4 separate regions of the Homo sapiens genome follow, and all the other regions are linked to region 1. The links are contacts of gene promoters, found by promoter capture Hi-C in blood cells and fetal thymus (Javierre and others, 2016). All regions are on one chromosome and are shown on one strand. Each heading gives the region's core, a stretch centred on a gene start or on the middle of the fragment in contact. The rest is flanking DNA. Distances are from core to core; before and after follow the strand shown.

Region 1 (2,700 bases), core at 16-2,515:
TTTTTTTTTTTCTTTGAGATGGAATCGCCCTCTGTTGCCCAGACTGGAGTGCAGTGACGCGATCTTGGCTCACTGCAACCTCCGCCTCCTGGGTTCAAGCGATTCTCCTGCCTCAGCCTCCCCAGTAGCTGAGACTACAGGTGCGTGTCACCACGCCCAACTAATTTTTTTTTTTTATTTTTAGTAGAGACAGCGTTTCACCATGTTGGCCACTCTGGTCTCAAACTCTTGACCTCAGGTGATCCGCCCGCCTCGGCCTCCCAAAGCGCTGAGATTACAGGCGTGAGCCACCGTGCCCAGCCGAAAATCATTCTTACACCTACTGTCCTGGAGCTGACTTCAGTTTAAAATCCCCTCAATAAGGTAAGACCAGAGCTGAGTTACCCAGAAGCTTTTCCATAGGCTTAGAGAGGTGGGCCCCGCAGCCAATCCAATGACGGATCCTGTCTAGGTTGAGGGCAACGAGTTTTTCTCCATGACTGTTGGGCAATGGATCATAGGAGCCCAGCTGCTCTACGAAACGGCCATCCCTGGGACACTTGTTGTGAGCAGCCACAATGCGGTAGAACGGCCGATTGGTGCAGCCACCCAGGGCAAGGCGGATGGTTAAGTGGCCCCCACGGTAGGCCTTGCAGAGGAGAGTAGCTGTAGAAAAGCAGCTGGTTAGGACACAAAAAACAGCACAAAAAGGACAAAATGACACAGACGGCACAATTCCCTTTTCCCACTGAAATGTCTCACTTCCAATCCATTCCTGTCAATCCAGTTTAGATGCTACTCTTCTTTGTGAAACCCCTCTTGGCCAGTCCAGCCAGCAATGACCTCCTCCTCATACCCAAACCCACCCCGCATGGGCTTGCCATTCACTAGGCTCTGTGACCTTGTCGGAGCCTTAGCTGCTTCAATGGGGTGGAAATTTTTCAGCGGTGATTAAGTGGGGAAAAAACTGAGAGAAGGATCAAATGTAAGGCAGTGTGGCTGCTTCAGGTTCGGGTTGCCTCCATCGCGCCTGGGAGAGCTCTCCCCACCCGGCCCCGAACTCCCGAGCCCCGTGACCGCCCGGAACGTCTCGCGGTGGCCCGATGACTCACTGAGGTGGACCATGGTGCCGCCGGCGTGCGGCTCCTCGGAGAGCCCCGCTACCCGCACGCACCAGCTCTACGGCCTTGGCAGGGCAGAGAACAAACACAGAAAGAACCTGCAAGCCGACACCAGGCCGCACCGCCAAGCGGTACAAGCCCGAAAACCTCGACTCCGGAAGCGGATGATCCGCTCGCCACGCCTCCTCCGCTTGCCGCCCTATACTTCCCACAATGCAACACGGTGACCCCTAACGTACCTTAAACTGCTGCAAAAGAGGCGTTTCTCGTGGTGTCTTGTGGGAGTGGCGGTGCGATCCCTCTCAGACTTGTGAGTCCCTGCTGGAGTCAGAAGTTTTAGGCGAATCCCAGGCGCGCCAAGGAAAGTGCTACAAAAGCCATCCATCTTGCAAGCGTTGGTGCCGAGGCGCAACGCTGAGAACGCAAATACTAAAGGGCGCTGTTCTTTCCTCGTGGAGCTCACAGTCCGCTGGGGAGACCGTGAGATGACAGCAGAGAAACTAGCGCGATCAGTAGTACTCAGCGCAAGGACAGCGAGCAGAGAAGGCAAACCTAGTGCTTGCTAAGGAAGACTTCACAGAGGAGGTAGTGTCAGGGCCGAGACTAGGAGAAGGATTGTAAGTGACTAGATTTTACTTTATCCTTCTCGTTAACCAAAATTAATTTACCTCTCACCTTTTCTCCTGTTGTCGTCCCACCCCTATCGAGGCAGTCACACCTTAAAAAAAAAAGGAGGGGTTATTCCTGCTTTTGCCGTGCTGTGATCCAGGGCAGAGGTGAAGTATGATTTTTTTTTTTTTTATCTGTAGCCCTAGAATATGACCTCGGTGATGAGGGTAACGGTGTCTCCTTGGAGCCCTAGTGGTTTAGATCCATGAAGATGCCTGTGTTTGGTGAGAAGGTGTCAATAGCTCCACCTTCAGCAAAGACCTCTCTGTTCAGCTTTTTCGTTTACTGTTAGTTCCAAAGGGCTAGCATGCTCTTTGCCCTAATACAGTGACCCAGCATAGCAGTCTTCCTCCAGGGCCACCTTTGAAAATGATGCCTTAATTCCTGTATTTCAGTTAACTGAACCTGTCCAGAAACCTTAGCACCTGACTTCCTCCAGGAGTGATCCAATAAGCTTTCATCAGAAACCCTAATAATGACCCCACTATACCTTAATTTTATTGTATGTATATATATGCCATATAATTATTATAGCAATTACACTATAGTTATTTATATAACTAAATACCTACATGTAACTCAGTATACGTTAACTCCAGAACCATGCTGATGAATTTTGAGTTTCATATCTCCATTTTTTTATTGTGACCCAGTTTCTCGTCAACCAGTAAAACATCCAGTAACACAGCCAATGGAAATAAATGAATGGGTCTCTGTTTATAGTGAAGATTCTTTCGTTCTCCAGCTCCAGGCTTCATACGGTAAAACTCTCTGGGAAGGAAAGGAACTCAGAGTCCCATGCAGAAAATTGTTCAGCTGGAGGGGTATCAGAAAGATGGATTTCCAAAGCCAACTGTTTCCTGTAGTGTGTGGATCTCTGCAAGCAGAGCCTCATCTTTCAATTTCAGCTACATGAAAGAGGAAGAAAGGG
Region 2 (2,700 bases), core at 185-2,684, 160 kb after region 1:
CTCCCCTCGTGGCTACAGCATTGAACACACATTAGCATTAAACATTTGAGGCAATTACGAGGGCTCAGATCAATATTTTAAACTCGTTAAGGAATTTATATTACAGAGAAAACCAATCAGCTACCTTTTAGAGTGGTAAAAGGTAGCTTCTGGGTGTGGTCCCCCGAACAGCAGCATCACCTGGAAACGTGTTAGTAACGCAGATTATTGAACTCCACCTTAGACCTACTGAATCAAACTCCCCGGGTGGTGCCCAGCAACCTGTTTTAACAAGCCTTCCAGGTGGTTCTGATGCACACTAAAGTTTGCACATCTGATGCACATCAACTTACTTATTCCTCTACACACTTTTCTACCCAAAAGCTTCCTCATGGGGGTGGAATAGAGTGGATTACGATTTTAAATGGGAAGAGCAAGCAAAATATACGTGGCTTCCAAATAGGTGTGTGGAGTGAAAAGTATTTGAGGCAGGTCATTGCCTCATTTAACAATGGTAGACAAAATGCACAACTCTCTAGGTGACCAGCATTAATTCCCCGGCGCCCAACAGTCTGTCTACCTGGAAAATAACAGGACTTTCTGTCCTACCTACCCCAGAGACCTCCAGGATTTAAGCCTTCCCTGAGAAGCCTACTCTGTTCATTCTAGAGTTCCCTTTGTGAGCTCGTTCCAAACCCTCCCTCTGCCTTAAATACCACCATAACAGGGTATTTGCCAAACCTCTTATTTCCAGCCCACTTTCCTGAGCTGCAGGAATAGTCCAATAGTCTACTACGACATTTGCCATTTCATCCTTTCAATTCATCCTTTCTTCCTGGCATAAAAGGCGTTACAGGATCGGAGACCCTTTCCTCCTGCTACCTCTGCTTAGAAAGCACTGCTCATCTTTTAACAATTACTCATCTTAATTAGACTTGTTTTCAAGGTTGCTCATCTCCGTCTTGCTCCAATAAACTCTTCCTGATCTTCTTTTTTGTACTCAACTGGACCATTTTAATTTTTTAATTTTTTTGGAGACAGAGTCTTGCTCTGTCACCCAGGCTGGAGTGCTGTGGTGCGATCTAGGCTCACTGCAACCTCTGCCTCCGGGGTTCAAGCGATTCTCATGCCTCAGCCTCCCGTGTAGCTGGGAGGCATGTCACCACGCCCAGCTAATTTTTTTGTATTTTTAGTACAGATGGGGTTTCGCCATGTTGGCCAGGCTGGTCTCGAACTCCTGGCCTCAAGCGATCCACCTGCCTCAGCCTCCCAAAGTGCTGGATGTATTACAGGCATGAGCCACCATACCTGGTCAACATCTCTGAAGGCCATGGTATGTTCCAGAGTTCATGTGAAATAAGAGCCATCATGCTTCTAATGTGAACATCCCACTGTATCAGAGTCTGGTTTTTTTTTGTTTGTTTTTGTAGTTTTGAGACAGGGTCTCATTCTGTTGCCCAGGCTGGAGTGCAATGGCACAATCTCAGCTCATTGCAACCTCTGCTTCCCAGGTTCAACGAATTCTCCTGCCTCAGCCTCCCAAGTAGCTGGGATTACAGGCATCCGCCACCACGCCCAGCTTTTTTTTTTTTTTTTTTTTTTTTTTTTTTTGAGACAGAGTCTCACTCTGTTGCCCAGGCTGGATGGAATGCAGTGGCACGATCTCGGCTCACTGCAAGCTCTGCCTCCTGGGTTCACGCCATTCTCCTGCCTCAGCCTCCCGAGTAGCTGGGACTACAGGTGTCTACCACCACGCCTGGCTAATTTTTTGTATTTTTAGTAGAGACAGGGTTTCACTGTGTTAGCCAGGATGGTCTCGATCTCCTGACCTCATGACCCACCCGCCTCAGCCTCCCAAAGTGCTAGGATTACAGGCATGAGCCACCACGTCCGGCCTAAATTTTTATATTTTTAATACAGACGGTGATTTGCCATGTTGCCCAGGCGAACTCCTGACCTCAGGTGATCCACCCACCTCGGCCTCCCAAAGTGCTGGGATTATTACAGGTGTGAGCCACCACGCCTGGCCCAGAGTCTGGTATTTAAGTTCATATCCTTTTTGTTCCATTAGAATAGTAATTTTGTCCCTCAGGGACACCTGACAATGTGTGGAGACATCTTTGTTTGTCACAACTGAGGGGAGGTGGTGGGGTTACTAGCATCTAGTGGGTGAAAGCCAAGGATTCTAAACAAGGTACGTATCCTACAATGCCTACAGTCCCTACACAAAGAATTATTCAGCCCAAAAAGTCAATAGTGCTGAGGTTAAGAAACCCTGAGTCAGAGTGATCTTTCTAAAGAATAAATTGGGTCATGTAATTCCCGTGATTAAACTTTTTTAATAGCTTCCCACTGGAACCAGAATAAAATAAAATCCAAACTCCTGATGGTCTATTAAGCCCTAGATAATCTGGTCCCTGCCTACATCGCTCATCTAATCCCTTTTCACTTTTTTTTTTTTTTTTTTGAGACGGAGTCTTGCTCTGTCGCCCAGGCTGGAGTGCGGTGGTGCAATCTCAGCTCACTGCAAGCTTCGCCTCCCAGGTTCACACCATTCTCCTGGCTGAACCTCCCAAGTAGCTGGGACTAAAGGTGACTGCCACCACGCCCAGCTAATTTTTTTGTATTTTTAGTAGAGACGGGGTTTCACCATGTTAGCCAGGATGGTCTTGATCTCCTGACCTCGTGATCCACCTGCCTCGGCCTCCCAAAGTGCTGGGA
Region 3 (2,700 bases), core at 58-2,557, 230 kb after region 1:
AGCTTCATAAAACTGTTTATTTTATTGTTTTGGTCAAATGCCTGAAATTTTTTTGTTAAAATGGGCCATTTTCTGATTTGCCTGAAGCCCTGTGACAATTTGGGAAAAGTTGACGAGGCTAATAATCAACTATCAGCAGGAGGAAGAAGAACTCAAAATAGCAAAATTCCTAAGGGAAGCAGGACAGACAGAGTCTAGAACTTCCTTCCACTCTGAGAATCCTAGCACACCTCAGAAAAAAAGGTATATTGGAAACACTGGAGAAGGAGATATAAACAACAGTAACCAACATAAATTCACCAGGTAAGGTTTCAGTATCTACTAGGGAAGGTGGTTAAAAGCATATGCTGGGAGTCACATTGCCTGGCTATGCTGTTTACTAATAATACCTTGGGCAAGTTACTTAACCTCTCTAAGCCTCAGGTTCCTCATCTATAAAATGAATAAAACAACAGTACTTACCTCATTAATATTATTGTGAGGATTAATCGATATGTCTTCAGTGCCTAGAACATGCTTAGAACATATTAAATGTGCAACACAGGTATCTATTGGTAGAAATTTGACCCCACAATTCTACCTCTAGGAATTTGTCCTACAAAAATAATCAGGCAAGTATGTAAAGATGTATGAATAATATGACTCATTAAAGCATCATTTGTAAAGAAAAAAACTGGGAACATCTTCAGTGTCTAACACAAGGAATTAATTAATTATGGTTTGTTTATTAGATGGAAAACAATGTAGATATTAAAATGATGCTACGAGTTTATATTTACTGACTTGGAAGGATATTTGGTGTAGGCATGTATGAAAAAGCAAGTTACAGACAATATTATAATATGATCCCCTTTTCATTAAAAAAAGAAAAAATGTATATATTGGAAAATACATATTGTTCTACATTTGCTGCATTTTGTTTATATAATTTAAAAAGATGGCAGGGCAATGTGGCTCACATCTGTAATCTCAACACTTTGGGAGTCCAAGGCAGGAGGATCACTTGAGCCCAGGAGTTCAAGACCAGCCTGGGCAACATAGGAAACTCCATTGCTACAAAAAAATTAAAAATTAGTCTAGGCATGGTGGTGTGTACCTGTGGTCCCAGCTATTTGAGAGACTGGGACAGAAGGATCCCTTAAGCTCAAGAGGTCAAGGCTACATTGAGCCATGCTGGTGCCACTGTACTCCAGCATGGGCCACAGAGTAAGACCCTGTCTCAAAAAAAAAGAAAAAGAAAAGAGAAAAAGGAAGAAAAGGAACCATCTACTGTTAAGTGATAATCAAAAGGTCATTTTAATGCCTCAAGTTTTTAAAAACAAATTAATACTTTCCAAATACACAAAGATTCCATAGGATATACTTGAGTCTTAATAGCTACACAAGGAGAAACAGAAGCACTAGGGCTCAAGCAATAAAAAAATCACAATATACTTTATTTAATCAGACAGAATTCAAGTAATCTTTTTTCACATGGTTTAATGCCTTTAGGGGCAAGAGAGATAAATAGCACTAAATTTTTAAGGCCACTAGTTAACAGGGCAATAAAGACCCCTCAGTCAGCTCATAAATTCCACTGGGAAAAAAATGGCAATTATAATTATATAAACAGAGTTATACAAAGAAATTTATTTGAATTGTTTGAAAGACAGAACAGGAATAAATAGTAGCTTTTCATAAAAACTTCAGAATATGCAGAGTTATTAAAAAAACCTAACACAGGTACTTGTGAAAACTAGGATTAAGTGAAAGCATCTGTGTTAACACTTAACAGCAAATCAAATGACAGTTTATGATTATTACCTCTATACTAAAATAACCTCTGTCCACATAATCGCCAAGAAAAAGGTATCGTGTATTAGCAGGTGATCCTCCTACTTCAAAAAGTTTCATCAGATCAAAAAATTGGCCATGGATGTCACCACACACTGAAACAAGAAGATTATTAGATAAGGGAAAAAAATCTCTAAAACAACAAATTTTACTTAAGTTAAAACGTATTTTACATAAGACATAGTACAAATGCTATCAAGAAATGTCTGAGAAGGAAGTAGTCTATGAACAGTCATGATTAGGATGATGTGTAACCAAGTGTTCATGTGCTCAAGATCTAGAAAAAGATGTAACAGAAATAACGAAATTTGTGGTCAGTGACAAACTGAAATCTACATTTATAAAGATCGTCTCTAGGACTCCAAGGATGTGTTTTAAGTTTCAAGATGACAAAATTACAATGGTGGCAGTTAAAATATCCATTCTAACTCAATACTTTCTGTTGCTCTCTAAATGGTCACTTTTGGTATCTGATATGACATCAAGGTATTTGACCCTAACAATTGAAAGCAAAGTAAGTATTGATCAAATTGAAGTATGGTCAACACAATTGATGAAACCTTCACAAAAGCATATTAGACTAACTTCTACACTCAGATTATTTAGAATCATGTCTATTCACTGAAAACAGGCAATCATTTTTAAGTATGGAAAATAATTTGAAATTCAAGATAATGTCCAAGTAATATTGATTTAGCATACAGTATCATTGAAAACAGTAAGTTGTAAATCCAGGCAACTAAATAATGACATAATAAAAATAATACCCAAAACATGAATAAGCTTACCTGTGATTGGAGCTTCTACTTCTATCATGGTTTTCTCTCTCCGAAGGATGGCAGCACCCTCATTGATAATTCTAAGCGC
Region 4 (2,876 bases), core at 301-2,800, 210 kb after region 1:
ATGCTTTAAATAGATGAATTGCATAGTATATATATTTCAATAAAGCTGTTACGATGTATACCTTAAATATACACAATAAAATGTATTTTTTTAAAAAATTAGAAAACTTTTGTGCTTCAAAGGACAAAAAAAATCAGGCATGGAAGCATGTGCCTGTAATCCCAGCTACCTGGGAGAATGAAGAAGGAGGATCACTTGAGCCTAGTAATTTGTGTGAGACCAGCCTAGGCAACACAAAGATCCCATCTCTAAAAAAGAAAAAAAAAAAAAAAAAAAAAAAAAAAAAAGCTAGTCATGGTAGGACATGCCTGTAGTCCTACCTACTTGGAAGGCCATGCGGTAAGACTGCCTGAGTCCAGGAGTTTGAGATTGCAGTGAGTTACGATTGCACTCCAACATTCTAGCCTAGATGATGGAGTGAAAGCCTAAAGGACATTATCAAGAAAGTGAAAGTCAGCTAGGCCGGGGGTCATGCCTGTAATCCCAGCATTTCAGGAGGCTGAGCAGGTGGATCACTTGAGACCAGAAGTTTGAGATCAGCCTTACCAACATGGTGAAACCCTGTCTCTACTAAAAATACAAAAATTAGCCGGGCATGGTGGCACATGCCTGTAATCCCAGCTACTTGGGAGGGTGAAGCAGGAGAATCGCTTGAATCTGGGAGGTGGAGGTTGCAGTGAGCCAAGATGGTACCACTGCACTCCAGTCTGGGTGACACAGCAAGACCCTGTCTCAAAAAAAAAAAAAAAGAAAGAAAGAAAGAAAGTGAAAGTGGAATGGGAGAAAATTATTTGTAAATCATATACGTAAGGGACTTGCATATAGAATATCTAAAAAACACAACTCAATAATTATCTCCCATGAAACAACTGAGACAGAAAAATACTGCATGTTCTCATAAGTGGAAGCTAAATAATATATGTACATGGAGGTAGAGTGTGGAATGATAGACAAAGGAGACTTGGAAGGGTAGAGAGGTGGGAGAGGTGTGGAAGATGAAATTACTTAATAAGTACAATGTATGCTAGTCTGGTGATAGATACACTAAAAGCCTTGACTTCACCACTATGCAATATATCTATGTAACAAAATTACACTTATACTTCATAAATTTATATAGACAACAAAAAAATGTTTTGTTTTATTTTTTAGAGACGGAGTCTCACTCTGTTGTCCAGGCTGGAGTGCAGTGGTGTGATCTTGGCTCATTGCAACCTCTGTCTCCCAGGTTCAAGCAATTCTCCTGCTTCAGCCTCCTGAGTAGCTGGGATTACAGGCACGCACCACCACACTCAGCTAATTTTTGTATTTTTAGTAGAGACAGGGTTTCACCATGTTGGCCAGGCTGGTCTTGAATTCCTGACCTCAGGTAATCCACCCGCCCCGGCCTCCCAAAATGCTGGGATTACAGGTGTGAGCCACCGCACCTGGCAAAAAAATTTTTTAATAAAGAAAATTTTAAGACAAATAACCCAATTATAAAATAAGCAAAGGATTTGAAAATATATTCATCCTCGGCTGGGTGTGGTAGCTCATGCCTGTCACCCTAGCACCCTGGGAGGCCAAAGCGGGTAGACTGCTTGAGCTCAGGAGTTACCAGCCTGGGCAACATGGCGAAACCCTGTCTCTATATTAAAATATACATGTATTTTCTATATTAAAATATATTTTACATATGTAAAGTATATGTTTATATATTAAAATGTATATTTATTAAAATATATATATTTTTTCATCCAAAGAATATATACACTGCTGATGAAACTGTAAAATGGTACAGCTAAGGCCGGGCGCAGTGGCTCATGCCTGTAATCCCAGCACTTTGGGAGGATGAAGTGGGACAATCACCTGAGGTCAAGAGTTTGAGACCAGCCTGACCAACATGGAGAAACCCCGTCACTACTAAAAAATACAAAATTAGCCGGGCGTGGTGGTGCGTGCCTGTAATCCCAGCTACTCAGGAGGCTGAGGCAGGAGAATCACTTGAACCCAGGAGGCAGAGGTTGCGGTGAGCCGAGATCGCACCATTGCACCCTAGCATGGGCAACAAGAGCAAAACTCTGTCTCAAAAACAACAACAACAATAAAATGGTACAGCTGTTTTGGAAAACAGTTTGGCAGATCCTTAAAAGGTTAATCATAGAGTTACAATATGACCCAGCAATTTCACTCCCAGGTCTATACTCAAGAAAATGAAAACATAGGCCGGGCATGGTGGCTCACGCCTGTAATCCCAGCACTTTGGGAGGCCGAGGCGGGTGGATCAGGAGGTCAGGAGATTGAGATCATCCTGGCTACACAGTGAAACCCTGTCTCTACTAAAAATATAAAAATTAGCTGGGCATGGTGGCGGGCACCTGTAGTCCCAGCTACTCAGGAGGCTGAGGCAGGAGAATGGCGTGAACCCAGGAGACGGAGCTTGCAGTGAGCCAAGATCGCGCCACTGCGCTCCAGCCTGGGCGACAGAGCAAGATTCTGTCTCAAAAAGAAAATGAAAACATAAAACTTGCACATGCATATTCTTCGCAGCATTATTAGTAAGTCCAAGAGTAGAAATAAATGTCTATCAGCTGATGAATAAAACAAACAAAATGTGCTATATCCATACAATAGACTACTATTCCATCATAAAAAGGAATGTTGTACTGCTTCATGCTACACCACAGATAAACCTTGAGACCATGGAAAGAATCCAGTCACAAAAGAGCACACACTGTGTGATTCCATTTATATGAACTGTCCAGAATAGGTGAATCTATGGGGACAGCAGATTGGTGGTTACCTAGGGTTAGCAAGGGGGGTTAGGGGAAAATGAAGAGTGACTGCTAATGGGCACAGGGTTTCTTTGGAGGGGATGATGAAAATGTTCCAAAACT

The links. The method cuts DNA at HindIII sites, captures the fragments that hold promoters and counts their contacts. A CHiCAGO score of 5 or more calls a contact.
Region 2: a contact is called between a fragment that was not itself captured here and the fragment with the promoter of MRPS16 in region 1, in 3 of 17 cell types (erythroblasts, M2 macrophages and endothelial precursors). The highest score is 6.2, in erythroblasts.
Region 3: a contact is called between a fragment that was not itself captured here and the fragment with the promoter of MRPS16 in region 1, in 2 of 17 cell types (megakaryocytes and endothelial precursors). The highest score is 5.7, in megakaryocytes.
Region 4: a contact is called between a fragment that was not itself captured here and the fragment with the promoter of MRPS16 in region 1, in 2 of 17 cell types (erythroblasts and megakaryocytes). The highest score is 6.1, in erythroblasts.

The regions. Positions count from the first base shown.
Region 1 is chr10:73,251,379-73,254,078 of GRCh38, forward strand. MRPS16 (mitochondrial ribosomal protein S16) reads right to left here and starts at 1,266. Exons shown (of 3, transcript NM_016065.4): 1 at 1,092-1,266; 2 at 385-645. The coding sequence starts at 1,104. It overlaps CFAP70 (cilia and flagella associated protein 70), which reads right to left. Exons shown (of 28, transcript NM_001367801.1): 28 at 2,384-2,677. The coding sequence ends at 2,597. The region is part of intron 2 of DNAJC9-AS1 (DNAJC9 and MRPS16 antisense RNA 1); the gene reads left to right. RefSeq lists enhancers at 985-1,552, 992-1,281, 1,402-1,661. The HindIII fragment of the contact is 1,832 bases long and covers 390-2,221 here.
Region 2 is chr10:73,414,551-73,417,250 of GRCh38, forward strand. No RefSeq gene overlaps it. Among named protein-coding and RNA genes, the nearest start is that of ANXA7, 1.8 kb to the left of the region's middle. The HindIII fragment of the contact is 2,147 bases long and covers 362-2,508 here.
Region 3 is chr10:73,476,696-73,479,395 of GRCh38, forward strand. It overlaps PPP3CB (protein phosphatase 3 catalytic subunit beta), which reads right to left. Exons shown (of 14, transcript NM_021132.4): 2 at 2,622-2,700; 3 at 1,804-1,928. Among named protein-coding and RNA genes, the nearest start is that of PPP3CB-AS1, 18 kb to the right of the region's middle. RefSeq lists a silencer at 1,962-2,162. The HindIII fragment of the contact is 2,614 bases long and covers 1-2,614 here.
Region 4 is chr10:73,457,004-73,459,879 of GRCh38, forward strand. All of the region lies in intron 9 of PPP3CB (protein phosphatase 3 catalytic subunit beta), which reads right to left. Among named protein-coding and RNA genes, the nearest start is that of MSS51, 25 kb to the left of the region's middle. The HindIII fragment of the contact is 4,585 bases long and covers 1-2,876 here.